3 separate regions of the Homo sapiens genome follow, and all the other regions are linked to region 1. The links are contacts of gene promoters, found by promoter capture Hi-C in human tissues and cell types (Jung and others, 2019). All regions are on one chromosome and are shown on one strand. The core of a region is centred on a gene start or on the middle of the fragment in contact, and the rest is flanking DNA. Distances in the headings are between cores, read along the strand shown. Region 1 holds the start of CCNF (cyclin F). Region 2 holds the start of CASKIN1 (CASK interacting protein 1). Region 3 holds the start of DNASE1L2 (deoxyribonuclease 1 like 2).

Region 1 (2,849 bases), core at 217-2,716:
ATATTCAACAAATATTTATGGCAAATAGCGCATGTCATGTAACTTGGCTATTGGGAAACTTTCTGATCCAGAGCCCACATGACAGGCAGGAAGGGGAAAAAGCTGCCGAAGCTGAGGACGGTTTTCCTTCTATTTCACTCTCAGGAAAACTCCTGGGGCCTTTGCTGGATAGCTTTGCTTTTTGCACACGTGACCAAGGTGCATAATGTTCAATAAAGATCTGTGGGCTTGAAGAGTCTGGTTTTCAAGTCCAAATTAGAAGGGTCGGCCCTGGAGAGAAGCCACAGACTTGGAGGCCGGGGCAGTGTGCGTCCAAGTCTCAGCTCTGCAGAGTCTCAGTGTGCCCTCTATTGTAGAATGCGGAGTTGACAGCTACGCAGTAAGGTTGTTGCTCAGGTCCCAACACAAACCTAGACCTGTAGGTTTGTGTACAGATGCAATCATTAAAGGTGAGACGGGCATTCCACCCACCAGGCAGGCAGCCCGGACATGCTTCTCAGATGTGCTCTCTCCTCTTCCCACAGCCGGATTTTCCAACTCCTACTCCAGCAACCCCTTCCTCACTCTAAGCAGATGACCTTAGCCCTTATTTCACAGGGAAACAGAAGCCCTCAGACAGGAACCTCAGGATCCTGCCTCCCCATCTACAAATCTACCTTTCTATCCATCCTTCCTTCCAGTCCTGAAAGGAAGCGCCACTCCCCTCTGTGGGCCCAAATCCCTCCCCGCCTTGCTAGGACTTCCTAGCGATTGCTCCCGGCTCCCCTCTCTTGACCGGGGTCTTCCTGTTAGCAATTAAATCAGCTGCAAAAGCCAAACGTATTCCAGGGCGACGAATTCTCAAAGATTCTATAGACCTCTCCATAAAATATTCCTCATTCTCCGGCTCCAGGACAGATACTATGATAATAGCTGAAACCACAGTTCGTGTTTCCTGTGCCTCAACGCGCGCGGGGCCGAACGCTGCTTTCCACAGAGCTAGGTCCACGGCCCCGCTGGACTGAGGCTCGGTCAGGGCCCGGCCGGGCTGCGGGATCGCTTCGCCCCCACGCGCTCCGCAGCCCTTTCCCCGACCAGGAGGCGCTGGTGTTTGGCTCCCCGAGACCCGATCGCCGCCCCGGGACCCGATCGCCGGATCGCTGCCCCGGGACCCGATCGTTGCCCCAGGAAAGGGCCGGAAAACGTCGCCGCGGGGGAAGGCTCCGAGGGGCTCGGGCGCCCGCCGGGCATTTAAACCGCGCGCCCGGCCGCCGGGGCTCCCTGCGCGGGACGCGACATCCGCCCCGGGTTAAAGAGCTCGAGCCAGCCCTCTTCAGGCCGCCAGGGCCTCCCCTCCCGCGGGACCCACCGTCCGCCCCGCAGGGCAGGCAGAAGGGGTGTGGGGCAGAAACCAGCGGACATCGCCCCGCACTCACCGCCGCCGCTCCCCATCGCCGCGCTCGCGTCGCTGCCGCCGGAGCCCGCCTGAGAGCGCGCCCGCGCCCCGGCCGGAGCGCGCGTAGCCCTCGCGCAGGCGCAGACCCCGCCCCGCCGCCCACCCCAGTTTTCAAACGCACCCGGCCCTCCCATTGGCCTGCCCGGGGGGGCCGCCGCCGGCCCCGCCCATGTCCCGCCCTGTGCTCGCCTCATTTACCGCCCTCCACGCCCTCCCCGCCTGCTCCGGGACCCGCCATTGGCCGCGCCAGGACGCGAATTCGAACATTGGCCGCTGATTGGTGGAACCCGCGTGGCCGCCCCGCCTCCCCAACGGGGCTGGGGTCCCGTAGGAGCGCTTCCCGGCCGGCGGGCAGGGGTTTGTGGGCGTCCCCTCCCGGCCGCATGGGTTCGGGCTTCGCCGCTGACCCCGGCGACCGGCATCTGCGGTGCCAGATGGGCTGCGAAGGCGCACGCCTGCGGCCAGGGGAAAGAGGACTCCTTGGCGTCCCTCGCAGTCGCGGCCGTGATCCAGCCTGGGACAGCCTCGACGTGGCGCTTCTAAGACGAGGCCGTGCCCTGCCCGGGTCCCGGGGTCGCTCCTGGGCCCGCGACCCTCACCCCCAGCTTGCACGGCCTTCCCTTCCGCCGCCTGCTTCAGGTGGAGACCCTTGGGTTTGTGGCTGAGCCGCTGCTGGGCGGGGATGCTGGCCGGGATCGTGGTAGAGAAAGAGGAGGTCGGAGCTGACGCTGGGAAGTCTCCCCCGCGGAACGCTGACCCCTTCTTCCCGCGAAACGTGGCGCACCCTGGACGCCTCAGTGCTCCAGCCCCGGGGCAAGCCCTCCCCATCACTTTGGCCAGATGCTGCCCCCTGTCTGGCCTCCTCGGCTGCTACCTGGAGCTGCTCGCCGCGGGAAGTGTCGTATCTGCTCACTCTTGTCTTGGGCAGTGCCCATCTGAGCTGTCCTTCAGGAGTCAGCCACACCGCACCCCTTTTACGGCACAGGCTGTCAAGGGGAAGACTCGCAGCCTCCTGACTGTCTGGTGGAGGACAGAGGGGGCTTTTCCTGGGGAAGGCAGGGGCCTGGGCCAAGGCTGCCCACCCCTCCCTCACGCTTCCCTCAGTCTGCACCCTTCCATCCTTCCGGGTCCCCATAGAACTCCTTCAAGTACTGGGCCTGCCCTGGGCACACAGACAGGAGCCCTGGCGTGCAGGCTTCAGCCGGCCTGGGGCAAGAGACAGAGTAAACAGGTGATCACAGCACAGGGTACAGAAGAGTCCGTGGCCCCAGAGAGGGTCTGGAAGTTGGGAATATTCCCTGTCCCGGAATCAGGAAGCGGGTGAAGGAGGGTGAAGAGAGGACAGGCTGAGCGAGTTTGGGGCCTGCTCCCCAGATGTCCCATGTTCTCAGCCCCCAGATTTATTATCCCCTTA
Region 2 (2,849 bases), core at 230-2,729, 230 kb after region 1:
TCATGGTCACAAACCACTAAGAGGGGGAATAGGACACATCCAGAGGTGCGGGTGCAAAGCCCAGACTTACAACCTCAAGACTCTGGGACCCCAGGTGAGCCCCTTGGCTTCTCTGAGCCTCAGTTTCTTCATCTGTAAAATGGGGACAGTGAGTCCAACCTCATCTAGGAGGTGACCAGCACAGTGCCTGACCCAGCGGGTACTCAACTGGTCATTGGAAAGGGCAAGAGGAAAGGCCCTAGCATTTGGGGACCCCTCCCAGGAGTGCTGGAAGACCAAGGGCTGCTACCTGAACCTAACAGGAGACCCCACGGAGGGAACGGGAACGGCCAGCTGCCCACAGGATGCCGGGACCCCGGTGCCTGTCACCTTCCCTGTCCCTGCTGTCTGACCTCCTCTGTCCCCCTGGACCTGCTCAATGGTCTGGGGCCACACAGAGTGGGGTGCCAGGCCATGCCTCATAGAATGGGTGCGACCCTCCCCAAATTCTCCAAACGGCCTTGCCCGCTTGGGTGATGAGGGAAACGGAGCCTGAGTCGGGACTCAGACCCCCACTGATCTGCCTCTAGAATGCTGCAGGCCTGACGGGAGAGGGCCTGAGGCGCAGGGTGGCCCAAGCCTTCAGCCAGGAGCTCAGAGGGTCACAAGTCGGGGCCTCCAGCACCCAGGAAGCAGGACTCGCCTGCCTGGGCTGCAGGCTGGAGAGTGGGCAGACGTGGGCCGGGGGTCGGTTGGTGCCGGCGGGAGGTTCCAGCCCCTGTGGATGGAGATGGAGGCGACCCCCAGTCGGTGCGGGGAGTGGGGAGTTGAGCTCCCTCAGTGGGGGTGGTGGGGGCTACCTTGGGGTCAGGCTTCGGACTGAGGCTGGGGGAAGCTGTGGCGCCCGCATTATTTGCGGAGAGGAGCAGGAGGATGCTTGGGGGTTGGGGGTGCGGGTTCCCTGACACCGAATTCATTATTGGGAGATTCCTCTTCACAATCCCTCGACACCTCCCACGGGAACCCTGGGCCAGGAACGCCTGACAGCCTGGCGGGCCGGCTCCAGGGGCACTGGCGCCCGGGTCTCTCGGCGCCCGGTCCCCGCCCGCCCGCTGCCTCGGAACCGTCCCCCGCGGGTCCCGCAGCCTCTGGAAGCCTCTCTGGGCTCAGCCCCGCGCCGCCGCCGCGTCGGGGCTCCCAGTGCACCCCCGGCGGCCGCGTCCCCAGCCCGGCTAGCAGCCCCAGGCCGCCCGCGTCCGCAGAGGCCTGGCCTGAGCGCGCTGCGCGCACGTGGGGAGGGGGCGTCCCGGGGCGGGCGCGGGGAGGGCGGAGCCACGGGCCCGGGCGCGCGGCCGGCGCGGGCTGACGGAGGTCGGCGGCCCGGGAGCGGACCCCGGCGTCCGGGAGGCGGCGCCAGGTGCCGCGCCCCCGCCCCGCGCCCGCCGCGCGCCCCCGCCCCCGGGCCGCCCCCCGCCCGTGACGCGCTCCCCGCCCCCTCCGCGCCGGGAGCCCGAGCCCAAGCCGGAGCCCGAGGAGGGCGAAGGGGCGGCGGGCGGCGAGGAGGCGGCGGGGGAGGCGGCGGGGGAGGCGGCCGGTGCCGCGGGGCCGCCGCCGCCTCTGAGCCGCGCCGAGCTCACGAGCGCAGCCGCGTCGCTGCGGCCCCGGCCGCGCCATGGGGAAGGAGCAGGAGCTGGTGCAGGCGGTGAAGGCGGAGGACGTAGGGACCGCGCAGAGGCTGCTGCAGAGGCCGCGGCCCGGGAAGGCCAGTGAGTGCCGGGGGCGCGGGGCGCGGGTGGGAGCCCCGGGGGCCCCTCCCCGGCGCGGAGCCCCCCACCCGGCGCCGGGCGGGGAGGGGACGTTGTCGGGTCCCCGGGGGCGGGGCGGGGCCAGCAGCGCCCAGACCCTTGGTCCGTGCCCTCCACCCGCTGCCCCCAGCACTGGAGATGGGGCGGCCCCGAGAGCCGGCCGCCACCGTGAGCCCCGCAGCGGGCACCTGGCGGCACCCGCCTCCCGGGCCGCGGGCGTTCGCATCCCTCTCTCTCTACCTCTGTCCCCCTCCCTTCCCAGGCTGCGGGCTGACAGCTGGAGGTCTCTGCTGGGGCCTTCAAAGGGCGAGGCGGATGCCCCCCCCACCCACCACACGCACCGGGAAGACAGGGAGGGGGCCCCTGCGGCGAGGGGCGACCCGGGAGGTGACAGTCCCTAGCAGACCCCCTCCCGCCCCACGTTTAATAACACGCTTTGCAGGGAAGGTGGGGGCAGGACCACGCTGGGGGTGTGGCTGCCCTGGCATGGCCGGTGGGGTGCCATTTACTGATGGGAGAGCAGAGGCCCAAGGTCGCCCAGCCCAGGGCAGGCTGGACTCCAGGCAGGGCCGGCCTGGGCGCAAGGGCTTGGGGCCCTGCTCAGGCAGGCTCCAGCAGAGCCGGGTCTCCAGCTTCCCTGCTGGGAAAGGAGGCCATGAGGGAGTGGGGGACCACCACTGGCCATCCCCAGCTTGCCCTATGGCCGGCCCCAGGAAAGGGCTGGGAGCTTGGAGCCCTGGTCCCAGCACTCATCCTGGCTCAGCGCGTAGCCTCCCTGGGGGCCGCCGGAGATGGATGGATGGGCGTGTGGACCAGCCGCGTGTGCGGCTGCGCACGTATAGCCGTGTCAGTGTGTCAGGGCACCTGTGCGGGCACGGACAGGGCTCTGCAGGTCGGCACGTGGGGTCTGGGCGTCCTCCCTCCTCCCTCCACCCCCACAGACTGTAAGCCAGAGAGTCCCCCTCCCCTTCCTCCAGGGGGATGCCGAGAACTGGGACTGGCTTCTGGGAGATTGTTGGGGGCACCTAGGAGTCCCAGGAGGACCCCCTCCCCCGTACTTCACCA
Region 3 (2,849 bases), core at 189-2,688, 190 kb after region 1:
CGCTGTCAGGGATGAGCCACTTGAAGACCTCACTGCTCCTCAGACGGATGGCGGCCCAGTCCTGCGCCCGCACATAGCTGCAGTCGGCGTTGAAGTCGCCCAGGAACAGCATGTCCTGCGGGCGCCGCGGAGCCGTGTCTGAGCCGCCGCAGGAGCCGTCGAGGTCCCGCCCTCATGAACCAGACCCCCGGGGCGCGCCTGCAGGGACCCCGGGACCGAGGGGTGGGCTTACGTCGGTGCCCCACTTGTCGATCACGTCCAGGTACACGTCGTAGAGCGCGTCGATCTCCGCCACGGCTTGATGCGGCGCCGCGTGCAGCGGGATCAGCACCAGGTTCTGTGCTGCTGCGGGAAGGGGTGGGGGCGTCAGAGCTCGGCGGGAGGGGAGGGGCGGGGCCCGCTCACCGGTGCCGGGGGCCGAGAACTTGACCACGAAGGGCTCGCGGCTGAAGACGTCCTCGGGGTCTGGGTACAGGTAGGTGTCCACGACCGACACCGCGTCTTTCCTAGGAGATGGGGAGGACCCGCTGAGCCCCCGACCTGCGGCCCCGCGCGCCCCTCCCTGCGGCCCGCCCCTCACCTGTACACGAACAGGTACATCTCCTTGTACTGGTCCCGGCCCAGGGGCTGGCTGCTCACAAAGCTGTACTCGTGCTCGGACACGCTGCGGAGACAGGGGCCCGCTCAGGGTCGGGGCGCCGCGCCGGGGCGAGATCCCGGCGGGGGGTCGCGACGAGGGGCCCTGCCCACCACACCTGTTGATCTGCTCCATGAGCGCGGACACGGCGCTGAGGTCTGGGTCTCGCACCTCCTGCACCAGCGCGAGGTCATAGCCAGCCAGGATCTGGGGAGGAGCGGCGGGTGCGGGGGTCAGCGCGGTCAGCACCCCTAAACGCCGCCCCGCCCCGGCCCGGGCCCCACCTTCGCGATGATGCTGCCGCAAGCGGGGTCCGACACTTTGCTGTCACCGAAGCTCTGAATGTTGAAGGCTCCGATGCGAAGCGCGGCGGTCCCGGCGGCTTCCAGCGCCCAGAGTGCGGCCAGCAGAGCCCGGGGCCCGCCCATGGCGCGGAGCGAGAGGCTGGGAGGGACAGACGCTGCCGCCTACGCAGACCCGCTGTCAGACCCACCGACCCACCCCTTCCCTCCGCGGCCGCCCCTTGACGGCCAGTGCGACGCGGAATCCGCCCCTGCGTTCTGCAGGCTCCCAGGGCACTGCTGGGCTCTCAGGGACCGCTGCCTTCTCACTGCGCGGGAAGCTGCAGCCGGAATGGAGGGTCCGGCCCATCCAGCCCCAGCTCAGGGCAGCCGAGAGACTCACCTTGGATGTGGGTGCAGAGGCCCGAGGCTCAGAGATCCTAGGGGGATGGGGATCCCGGGTCCAGGCTGCGGGCGTGTCCGACACAGGACTGCACTGACTCCCTCTGGCAGTAGCTCTGGCACCAAGGCAGGGGCCGGTATTTGAGGTCCTGGGCCAGGGAGGGGCCGGGCTGCACTGGGTCCCGCCCCCTCGACTCAGCTGGGTGCCTGATGAACTCCTGGCTTTCATTCCCATGGAGACCCCCAGGGTAAGGGGTGGGAGACCTGCCTGAGCCGGTTCTGGTGCCCCAGACCTGTCCCAAAACCGTCCCAGAAGCCCCTGCCAGCCCCCTAGGAGGGAGGTAGACGGTCAGCCACATCCCGGTGCGGCTGTGTTCTTGTCCTCGCCCCTAGAAATTAGGTCGCCTAGACTCTGCCTCCCTGAGCAGAATCCCTTCAGGGAAAGCAAGGCAGCGCAGGTAGGACCAGCCACACTCCCTACCCAGCATCTCCTGCTGCTGCTCCACCTGCTCACCCTGCGGTGGAGGCCGAGGCTCCCAGATCTCCCTGTCCCCGTCCCTGGTCCTCCCACCCACCCACAGGCCTCAGGCAGCGCAGCTGGGGGCACAGCTCCAGCTGGGCAGGGCAGGAGGCTGTTGGTCAACATGCCAATGACACCCACACAGCACCAAGGCGCCGCCAGGGCTGGCAGAAGCCCCTGGGTGGGGCGGCCAGGCACGTGAGTCTAGGAGTGGCCTGGGAGGCAGGTGCTGCTGCGGGGGCCTGGGCAAAGGTGGTGGCACCAGCCGCGGAGGCTGCCACTGCCACAACATCACAAGCTGCAGGTTCTCATGTTTTATTGTAAAGCAACAAGAAACTCTTATGTACACTGTCCGTCTTGGGGCGCCTCCATCCTGTGCCATCTTCTCTACCAGGCCAGGCAGGCATGGGTGGGGCGCTCAGAGTCCTCTGCCCTGTCCCTGCCCGGCCAGGACCCCGCAGACCTCATGCTAGACGATGACCGTCTGCACCTCCAGCTGGCCCTCCGGCGAGGCGATGACCAGCTCGCCTGCATGCTCCAGGATCTCGATGTCCTCTGATGACACCATGGTCACAGTGGCCTGTTCAGTGCCACTTGTCCCTGCCCGGGCGGCAAGCACAGTGCCCTCGCTGATGGCCGAGGCCAGCGTCATGGCCACCTGCTCTGTCAGGCTCTCGGGGGTGGCGATGGTGATGGTGTCGGCGGCAGCCGCCTCTGGGCCCAGCGCCGTCTCCTCGTCCATGGTGACGTTCTGCACGATGATCTGGTGGCCGGCGCTAGCCTGGTGCACGATCTGCTGCACCACCTTCATGATGTGGCTGTCCACCTGCAGGGCCACGGCTCAGCAAGAGCGGCTGTGCCAGGGAGCCTCCCCGCCCCCGCCTGCCCTACCCCTCACCTCTGTCTGGGTGCCCTCGATGATCTCCGTGGCCTCACTGGTCTCCGCATCGTCCGCAGTGGCCTGGGCAGATGGGCAGAAGGACAGAGGTCAGCCTTGGCTGCCCCTGGG

The links. The method cuts DNA at HindIII sites, captures the fragments that hold promoters and counts their contacts. A contact is called where the count stands out against the background at its distance.
Region 2: a contact is called between the fragment with the promoter of CASKIN1 here and the fragment with the promoter of CCNF in region 1, in 4 of the 25 tissues and cell types used here (H1 embryonic stem cells, lymphoblastoid cells, mesendoderm cells and 1 more).
Region 3: the fragment with the promoter of DNASE1L2 here is called in contact with the fragment with the promoter of CCNF in region 1 in 5 of the 25 tissues and cell types used here (H1 embryonic stem cells, bladder, heart left ventricle and 2 more).

Annotation. Positions count from the first base shown.
Region 1 is chr16:2,428,064-2,430,912 of GRCh38, reverse strand. It overlaps CCNF (cyclin F), which reads right to left and starts at 1,466. Exons shown (of 17, transcript NM_001761.3): 1 at 1,416-1,466. The coding sequence starts at 1,431. RefSeq lists silencers at 1,091-1,140, 1,151-2,000 and enhancers at 2,211-2,390, 1,826-2,405. The HindIII fragment of the contact is 14,340 bases long and covers 1-2,849 here.
Region 2 is chr16:2,195,235-2,198,083 of GRCh38, reverse strand. It overlaps CASKIN1 (CASK interacting protein 1), which reads left to right and starts at 1,479. Exons shown (of 20, transcript NM_020764.4): 1 at 1,479-1,745. The coding sequence starts at 1,652. The HindIII fragment of the contact is 36,898 bases long and covers 1-2,849 here.
Region 3 is chr16:2,235,033-2,237,881 of GRCh38, reverse strand. It overlaps DNASE1L2 (deoxyribonuclease 1 like 2), which reads right to left and starts at 1,438. Exons shown (of 7, transcript NM_001374.3): 1 at 1,322-1,438; 2 at 922-1,104; 3 at 756-844; 4 at 581-664; 5 at 233-506; 6 at 1-115. The coding sequence starts at 1,065. It overlaps E4F1 (E4F transcription factor 1), which reads right to left. Exons shown (of 14, transcript NM_004424.5): 13 at 2,739-2,801; 14 at 2,140-2,666. The coding sequence ends at 2,310. The HindIII fragment of the contact is 25,906 bases long and covers 1-2,849 here.